2 separate regions of the Homo sapiens genome follow, and region 2 is linked to region 1. The links are contacts of gene promoters, found by promoter capture Hi-C in blood cells and fetal thymus (Javierre and others, 2016). All regions are on one chromosome and are shown on one strand. Each heading gives the region's core, a stretch centred on a gene start or on the middle of the fragment in contact. The rest is flanking DNA. Distances are from core to core; before and after follow the strand shown.

Region 1 (4,979 bases), core at 1,289-3,788:
CAGAACCCGGAGCCCTAATCACTTTTCCACATGCGCCTCCGGCCCGGCGCGCGACGGGGAACGAGCTGGGAGCGCCCGCGCAGCCAGGAGGGGGGCTGGGCCGCGGGAACGCTGTCCCCCTCCCAGGCTGGAAGGCGGGGATAATTCCCCCTGCCGTGCAGCCCTTCTAGACGGCGTCTACCCCTTTAAGAAAAATCTAGGCGGAGGTGGGGTGCGACAGAAGGGGTGGTGAGGCGAGGGTTTCCCTCCCTCCGTCTGCTATACCCGTCTCCCTCGCTCCGTCTCACTCTCCGTCTTTCCTCTCCTTCTTTTCCTCTGTTTTTCTTTTCTTTCAACACAAAAGTTGGGTTGTGAATTTTCCGAGGTCGCCGCCGCCTCGCCCCCACCCCCCGCCTCTGATCTGCCTAACTATAATTAAAGTGCGTTTTTTGTGGCATTAATAAAGAGTTATTTGTCCGCCGTTTCCACGGTCTTCACAAAGAGTACTTTCATAGGGGCGGCCGCTCGGGCCGCGAGTCCAATTTATACAAAAATGTTGTATTTTTAGCCCTGGGCTCTGTTTAGATGGCGCTCGGTGGAAACGGAGAGCCCTTGGAGGTCCCCCCGTAAAATCTGATAAATGACTCCGAAAAAATAACGCTGGGATTCAGAGGGCTCTCATTAACCCCTTAGGCGCTCCTGTACACGTACCCCCTATTTCCCTCCTCACCTCCAGATCTAGGGCCCCGGGTTGGAGGGATGGGGAGGCTTAGGTTTCCTCCTCCCTAACTTCTGTGCAGGTTGGACGCTGACCCCCAGGGGCTCTTGTGGGATTCGGAGAAAAGGTCATGGGGACCTGAGGGGGGGCAGAGAGGTCAGGAAACGAAGTGGGGGTGGGTGGTGACAGACCGTGGATTCAGCAGACTGGCTCTAAAAGGCGGGAGCCGTTGCCCAAGTTATTTTATTTCCTAAATTCGCGGCCCAAAGCCTAGAGCACCGCTGCAGTTGACACTTTAAGTGTGGTGGCGAGGGAAAGGCTCTGGGGATTTCTTTGCGGGGGGTGGGGGGGTGATACATCCATTGGTTGAAAGGACCCCCACCTCATTGCACGAACAACCCCAAAAAGAGATGGGCCTAATCCGGGACGTGGAAAGACCACAGGGCAGAGGAACTTCGAACCCCCTCCCCGCCCCCGCTCCGCTGTCACTCGTCCCGGGGCAGGGTGAGTGCGTGTGTGCGCGAGCGCGCGGATTGCACGCGTCTGTTAATTTCAAGCCAAGCTTTCGCACCTGTAAACCCACAGGTCGCAGCGCTCACCTTTCGCTTCACCTCTCTAGTGCGGGGATTGTCAGTTTCAGGACATCCCTGCTTCCCCTAACAGAACAAACGCGCGTACACACAAATACACCTCCCGCAGTTACTGCAGAGGCGCTCCGCTCCCCCACCCCAAGAAGAAAACCGGTGTGTATCACATTGCAAAAGCGATTGTCTGGCACTTGATGAGGTGAACTCCAGGTTAATCTCCCCATTACCTACCTGGGTCTGGTCCCTGACGCGCCTCACCCCCGTTATCACCAGCAGAGTGGGGTTGTGCGGCATCTAACAAGCACACACGCACTCTCTCTCTATGGATCCCACACTCACCTCTCCCAAGTTTCCCTCTCCTGCCAAACTGTCCCCACCCAATAAGTAAATAGACCCTTTTCCCCGAAAGCCTAGAGCCCTGGATTCTCATTTTTCCTTGGGTTACCTTCTTCCTCTTCCACCACAAAACAGACACACTCGCGCGGACCGCGGACCAGGGACACTGTACCTGGCGCTGCCGACGGCGCCGCAGGAACACAGTTTTAAATCGGCAATTCAAGCTGCCACCAGCCCCCTCCTCTCCCGACTCAATTTTCGGCTCCCAGCGACACAGCCAACCCCAGAAAGCCGAGGGCGACTGGGGGCTTGCAGCACCGAGGGGAGGCGAAAGCGGCTCAGGACCGGACCCTCCCCCGGGACCGCGCCTCGCTAGGCGCCCCCGGGGCGCTCCACGCCCCCTGCCAGGCCAGCCGCGACCCAGGCAAGTCCATCTTGGGAGCCCCCTCAGGTCCGGGAACCCCTCTTACCAGCCCCCTGAACCTGCGCCGCGGGCGCCAGTGGTCCCGGAACCGCGCTGCCGGCGGGCTGGGGAAGCCCGGGCTGCTGCGGCAGAGAGGAGGGAAGGGGCGGGGCGGGGACCAGTGCCTTCAGGCTCCCGGCGCCCCCTGGCCGGCCCGCCGCTCCGTCTGCCCCGCGCTCGCAGCTAGCGGACCCCGGAGTGCAGCGGAGCGAGCGCGCCCTTACCTGCAGCAGCCAGTGGCCGGTCTCTCCGATGAGCGGGAAGCCCATGGATCCCTTGGGGATGGGCAGCTTGCAGCTCTTGTCGCGAGTGGCGGCCCAGCGCAGCTGCCACAGCTGCTGCGACACGGCCAGCAGCAGCGTCACGGACACCAGGCACGCGGCGAGGGTGGCCAGCGCCGACACCAGATCCAAGCCCTCAAAGAGCATGTTGGCGGCCGCTCGGGGGATTGGCTGTGCCGGCCGCGGCGGGGGAGGGGAGGGCCCGACGGGAGGGGACCGGAGCGGCGGGGGAGGGGAGGCTGCGGCCGGGGGTCCTGGCACCTCCAGCCGAAACAGAGAAGGAGGAAGGGGCCAAGGGAAAGGGAGTGGAGGCTGCGAGGGGAGCGGAGAGAGGGAGGAAAAAAATTGCCTAAAAGAAGAGAGGAAACACGAGGCGACTGGGGTGCAACTTTGTTTGTTTGTTTGTTTGTTTGTTCCTTTATAGCGGGCTTAGGGGCTGCTCAAGGGGTGGTGAGATGAAGCCGTGAGTCAAGCTGGTGGGTTTGCTCTCCCCGCTACCATCACACTCGGAAAACTTTGGAAAACTTTGTCCAGAGGGAGCCTCTCTCTCGTAAGCCCCTTCCCCTGCTCGGAAAAAAAGAAGGGGGCAGAGAGCTAGCAGAGAGAAAGTGCGGTCGATTTGTCAAAAGTATTGCAGTATGGCCCCAAAATTCCTAGGTGAAAAAAAGAAAAAAAGAAAAAATTCCTGAATCCAAAAATTCCAACGAACCCAGAAACTTTGGGGGCGAGGGAGAAAGCTCCCTGGCTGAGGCGAGTGGAGAGGCCGGAGCCTAAAAGTCCCTGGGCTGCCCGGGGCGGCGCGCTCGAGCCCCAGAGCCGCCGCAGCACCCCCGAGGCAGGAGCGGCGGGCGAGGCGGCGAGGCGGGCGCTGCGGCCCGAGCGCGGGTGCGGAGCCGGCGGGCCGCGGCCGGGACGGGACGCAGCCGGCGACAGAGCCCCGGGCGGGCGATGGGGCGGCGGCGGCGGCGGCGGCGGCGGCGGCGGCGGCAGCGGGCGGGAGGGGTGAGGCGGGGTGGGGTTGGGGGAGGAGGTGGAAAACCCGAGCTGGGCTATTGTATCAATTAAGAAAAGGCAGTCCGTCCCGGGACGCGGTCTCTCGGCTCTGGAGTTGCTGCTGGGGGAAGAAATGGGGAAAAAAGAAAGGAAGGCAAAAGGAATGAAAGAGGGGGAAAAGCAGGAGGCAGGATTTCAGGGCTGGTGGTTTTAAAAGCTTCTCTCAATGTGAATTTGAGTCCAAAGCGAGGCGATGCGTGTGTTTATATAGAGGCGGGAGGCTGCGCCGTGGGCGCCCCGCCAGCACCCCCCCGCCCCAACCCGCGCGCTCACAAAGCCGGAGGCGTGGTGAGAGGCCGGGCCCGCGGCCGGAGCTGGAGAGCGCAGCCCGGCCTCCCGCCCCGCCCCGGCCGCCCGCCGCCCGCCGCCCGCAGCCCGCCCGGGACCCACTTGTAGCCGCCGCAGGATCAAACTCAGTTCACCTCTCGCCTCCTCTTCTTTCTCGCCGGCGTCTCGCTGAGCCCAGCGCCTACAGACGGACGAGATGAGACACACGCGCGCGCACCTACGCGCACACACACACAACACACACGCGCACACACACAACACACACACCTCCGCACACACGGTGCGCACTCGCTTAGTGCCTGCTTGGCTTCTAGGCTCCTTCCCTTCCTCTTTTCCTCCTTCCCAGGTCAGCGGTCCCCTCCTCCAGCTCCGAGCAGTCCCTCCTGGGCCGAAGCCCCGGCAGCGGAGGTCCTGGCCGGACTGCCCCCTCGACTGGCAGGCGCCCAAAGCCCTCGAAACTGTGCCTTAGGGTCCCGAGCTTCCAACCCCCGGGATCCCGCTGGCTCTTATCTCCAGGGACCCCTGAGTTACCAGTCCCAATCCCCCTAAGCCAGATCCCCCATTCCCGATCCCTATATCCTCACACCTCCGATGCTAAGGTCCGCCCCCGCCATATGTCTCTTACCCTACGGAACCTGGAGGTTCTCCTGTCCCCGTCAGCGTCCCAGGCTGCTGACTCTGCAGCCCCTCCTTTCCTGCACATTGGGACCCCCCTCCCCTGCTTTTGTAGTCCCCCTCCACCGCCCGCAGCGTCGGGGAACCCCGATACTGGTCCGGCAAGTGTCCTGCGCGGGGACAAACGCGGCGGCCCCGGTACCCAGAGGCGGGAGAAGACGGGCACAAACGTTCATTGATACAAATGAGTAAATAAACATGCTGGGTGAGCACGGCCACCTTCTCAGCGCTGGCAGCAGAGGGCCCGGCGCGCGTGCCTGTGTACGGTGTGCGTGTGGCCCGGGGCCGCACCTGTGTGTTCGCGCGCGTGGCCTTGCGTCGGCCCGACGTCTGAGGAGCGACGTGGTATGTCTGTGGGTTTGTGTATTCTTTGTAGAGCCATGAGTGTGTCTGCGCATCCGTGCATCTGTCATCTGGCCTCTCCTCCTGCGAGCCTGTGTTAACATGGAGCTGCGTACAGCAACCCCGACATTGGTCTAGCTAATGTCTGCCCCTCTCTCTCCCGTGCATCCTGCTTCCCTCAGCCCCCCTTGGCTCTGGCGTTCACTCTCACACTCCCGGAGCCAGAGTCGATATCCCATCTTTAGTTTAGAGTAGTG
Region 2 (4,979 bases), core at 1,039-3,538, 450 kb after region 1:
CTGGCTAATTTTTTTAAATTTTTTACAGAGACAGGGTGTTACTATGTTGCCCGGGCTGCTCTCAAACTCTTAGCCTCAAGCAATCTTCCCACCCTGGCTTCCCAAAATGTTGGGATTACAGGCATGAGCCACCACAACCACTCTGTATTAAACATTTAAGGAAGAAATACATATCAATGCCACACAGCAACTTCAGAAAATGGAGGAGAACAGGATATATCCAAACTCATTTTACAAGGCCAATACTACCCTAATACTAAAGACTAGAGTCAACCTAGCAAACAAAAAGGCAAATGAGCACAGTGCTTTACAATGACCTATCTAAATTTAAGTAGGGAAATGCCTGAACACCCAGGAGATGATGGATGCTGCCCAGCCACCTCCATACTTTGAGTAAGATGTACCTCCAAAGAAAGACAATTATATATGTTTGGAGAAAGTGTTTTGATACAAACAACCCAACTTGTTTCTGCTGTCTTCCTATTACTGCCAACTTATTCATTACCCTGATCATAACAAGAAGCTAAATGACCACTATAATGTATTTTCTATGAGAAAAAAGATTTCCATTTGTTTGGTTGACTAATGTACCTAAATATTTGCAACAAAACCTGGCATTTAGAAACAGTAACAAATGGTTAAAATAAATGGATTTCTACACAAAAATTTAAAACCAAAGTTTTCCAGCTCTCTAGCTCATTTTCAAAAGGATGATTCAAATAGTATATAATTAAAGAAAAAAAGATACCAAAGAAAATCTATGCACAATATAGTCTTTAGAAAATACACATCTAGAAATTAACATTCCCATTCAAAGACAATTAATAAGCATGGTGACGCCGGACGCAGTGGCTCATGCCTGTAATCCCAGCACTTTGGGAGGCAGAGGTGGGCAGATCACTTGAGGTCAGGAGTTCAAGACCAACCTGACCAACATGGTGAAACCTCATCTCTACTAAAAATACACAAAAATTAGCCAGGCGTGGTGGCAAATGCTTGTAATCCCAGCAACTTGGGAGGCTGAGGCAGGAGAATCACTTGAACTCAGGAGGCAGAGATTGCAGTGAGCCGAGATGGTGCCACTACACTCCAGCCTGGGCAACAGAGCAAGATTCTGTCTCAAATATATATATATAGATATATAGATATATATATCTATATATATATATGACAATTAATAAGCATGGAGAAGAAAATGAACAAAAAGGAAAGATATGTAAAGATAGGCTAATAATATAATTTTAAAAATAAAAATAATTGTATTAAAATAAAAAATTTTGAAAAAATAATTTTGTGTAGTAAAAGAAAAAACAAAAACTTTTCTATAATATCAAGAAGTTAAGAAAATATGAATACTACAGAAAAAGTTATCAAAGAAGAGACACAACATGCTTTTATAAAGTAATATGTCAGAAGAATATTCTTTTAAAGAGTGATGAGAGTTAATGGAAGAAACAGAAAAAACTTAAAAGCAATACAGAACTGAAAACCCATTAGAAGCCAGAAGCAATACCAAATTAGGGTCATAAAGGAGAGAAGTGACACAAATTTTTTTAAAAGACATAGATACACAATAAGAAGACAGACAAAAATATGAAAGAAATTAGAGAAATGATGATAAATATGGAAGACTGACAATGGAATGCCAACATACTGTAATTACTTTCAGATTAAGAGAAAAGAACAAGCAGAATATAAAAATGCTGAAGGCTAAAAAATGTTTCAAGTTCTCAATTTGCACAAATAAGACTACCATGTTCCAAAAGAAATAATCAATACCAAAATATAGCCTAGAAAGATTCCTGAACTTGAAGTCTAAAAATCTTATCACCAAGTCAAAAGAAGCATACCGCACCACAAGTGGTGGAAAAAAGAAAAGGAAGGCCTCTGGCTTCTCCTCAGTAATAATAGATGTCAAAAGACAAGAGGTCTGGTGAGACAGCCCAGGAAGAATGAGTTCTAAAAATAGTATAAAAAGCCAAGGTGGAACAGACTTCTGGTTTCAGCTCCAAAGTGTGAAAAGCTTAGAAGCTGTGACTCCCATATTCACAACAAGAAAAAAGATGAAAAACTAGAAAACTCTTCTCAGATCCATCAGAGAATTGAGGTCCCAAGACAAGATGCTTCCCAGAAAATTAGAGAGACAGGTGAATACAGAGAAATCACAACTATCATGAGCAGAATCCCCTGGTGCCTACCCAGTAACAGGTAGGAAAACTTAAATGATACATAATTACTGGAACAGTGTTAAAAGTTAAAACTCTTTAAGAGGCCCAGTCTTAGGGGGGCTCCTGAGTTTTACCTTTAGGAGCTTTCCAAGGTTCTCATGGAGAACATCCAAAAAAATCCCCTCCTGCTTCCAGCAGAGAAAGGAGAAACGTAACCATTTTGAAATATGCTCCCTCTAGTCTTCCTTTCTTACATAAAGGAAGAAAAACATAAAGGAAGAAAAAAGAAGAAAAAGAAAGGTCAAGAAACTCTGAAGGTCACAGTCCAGGAATGTTGGTTCAATATTTTTTAACAAAGAGAGAGAGATTTAATCATAAGGCTACAGAAAGCTTCCTACCTCCAACCCCAAAAACCTTACCACCACATTAATAACAGTGAATTACAACAGAAAGAGCTATAAAACACTGTTTAAAAAGGAGCTACTAGGGAAAGCTAAAGACAAGGGAGAGAAAAACAAGGACACAAGAGGAAATTGAAGGCTCTGACACCAAAAATTACAGTAAACATTAAATACAGACTAACTCCTACCTAGATAAACATAAATACTCATATTAAAATCCTATTTATCTCAGATCTTAATATCTAATGCATCATGTCTATCAGAGAGGGTGGAATGGGGAATAATTATTGTACAGCTATCTCTATTTACTCCTAAAACATTTCCATTATCCCAAAAAGAAACCCTATATCCAATACCCTTAAGGTTTCTTTCTGGGATAATGGAAATGTTTTAGGAGTAAATAGAGATAGATATACAAAACTGAATATACTAAATGCCACTAAATTGTTCACTTAAAAATGGTTAATTTTATATTATGTAAATCTTACCTCAATTTAAAATTTTTAATTCTTAAAAATAATACCAATAATGGATTAGGTTATTATAGTTTATGGATAAAGGAAATTAATGACAGCAATGTTATAAGGAACTAGAGGGAGGAACTGGGAATACTCTGTTACAATGTATCTGCCCTACTATGAAGCATTACACTGTTATTTGAAAGTGGACTTAGATTAATTATAAATGGATATTGCAAACCCAAGAACAACTGGTAAAAATTTTTAAAGAAAGTATAATTATATGCTGAGAGGGAAAATGGAATTCTATAAAATACTCAATTAAAAACCATAAAAGGCAGGAAAAAAAGATTTTTTTAAAGGAACAAAGGACAAGTATAATAAGAATATAAAAGTAATAAATATAGTAGCTATTAATCCAACTAAATCAATAATCACCTTAAATGTGAATTGTCCAAATATAGTAACTAAAAGAGATGGAAAGAGTGGATAAAAAGAAAGACTCAGCTATATGTTGCCTATAAGAAACCCACTTTAAGTATAAAACCACAGATAGATTAAAAATAAAGAGATGGGGAAACATATACCACACGAACAGTAACAAAAAGAAAGCTGGAGTCACTATATCATTTTCAGACAAAGCACATTTCAGAACAAATAAAATTATCAGGGATATAGAGAGGTATTACATAATGATAAAGGAGTCAATTCTCCAAGAAGACACAACAGTCCTTAGTGGGTATGCACCTAACAACAGAGCACCAATATGCATAAGGCAAAAACTGACAGAACTTCAAGAGAAAACAACAAAATTATTATTATTATTATAATGGGAGAATTCAACACACATCTATCAATAATTGAAAGATCCAGCAGGCAGAAAAGCAGTAATAGCTAAACTGAACAACTGGATCTACTTGACATTTGTAGAATACTTCATTCAATAACAGCAGAATACACACTTCTCTCAAGCTTACATGGAAAATTCACCAAGGCATAGCACACTGATGGCCATAAAACACACTCAAAAAATTTTAAAGAATAGAAATCAAAAGAAGTACCCACTCAGACCACAACAGAATGGAACAAGAAATCAATAACAGAAAATTCCAAAATATTTTGAGATTAAACAACATACTTCTAAATAATACATGAGCCAAAGAAGTCTCAAGAGAAACTTTTTAAAAATGTAAACTAAATAAAACCTAAAAAACAACTAATAAAAATTTGTGGTATAGAGCAGAAACAGTGCTTACAGGGGAATTTATAGCATTGAATGCATAAACCAGTAAAGAAGAAAGATCTAAATTCCACCTAAGGAAACAAGAGAAAGTGTAGCAATATAAACCTAAGCAAGCAAAAGAAAAGAATAATTAACATTGGAGTAGGAAACGATGAAATTGAAAATAAGAGAACAACAGAGACAATGAAATGAAAAGCTGGTTCTTTGAAAAGACTGGTAAAGTTGATAAATGTCTAGCCAGGCTAACTGCAAAAAGGGAGATAAACAGAAGCCATATATTACAAATAGCACAAACATAAGTGAGACTATCACTACTAATCCCATGGACATTAAAAGGATAACAAAAGAATATTATGAACAAATCTATACTCATGAATTTGATAACTTTGATGAAACAGAGCAATTCCTTGAAAGACAATCTACCAAAATTAGTTTACTGAAAAATATGTAATTTAAATATATCTGTATCCCATATCTGTTAAACAAATTGAATTAATAATTAATAACCTTTCAAGACAGAAAGCAGCAAATCCAAATAGGTTAGCTGGTGAACTCTACCATTTATGAAAGAAATTATTGAATTCTCTACAATCTCTTCCAAAAAATAGAAGCAGAAAGATGCTTCCTAACTCATTCTATTAAATCAGCATTACCATAGTCCATAGTATCAAAGCCAGATTTAAAAACTTACAAGAAAGGAAAAGTACAG

The links. Contacts are between HindIII fragments. The CHiCAGO score rates a contact against its expected background, and 5 or more counts as called.
Region 2: a contact is called between a fragment that was not itself captured here and the fragment with the promoter of CYP26B1 in region 1, in 1 of 17 cell types (erythroblasts). The highest score is 8.5, in erythroblasts.

What each region holds. Positions count from the first base shown.
Region 1 is chr2:72,145,324-72,150,302 of GRCh38, forward strand. It overlaps CYP26B1 (cytochrome P450 family 26 subfamily B member 1), which reads right to left and starts at 2,539. Exons shown (of 6, transcript NM_019885.4): 1 at 2,308-2,539. The coding sequence starts at 2,511. RefSeq lists enhancers at 1,215-1,737, 1,927-2,428. The HindIII fragment of the contact is 2,315 bases long and covers 1,258-3,572 here.
Region 2 is chr2:72,594,140-72,599,118 of GRCh38, forward strand. The region is part of intron 6 of EXOC6B (exocyst complex component 6B); the gene reads right to left. Among named protein-coding and RNA genes, the nearest start is that of EXOC6B, 230 kb to the right of the region's middle. The HindIII fragment of the contact is 535 bases long and covers 2,022-2,556 here.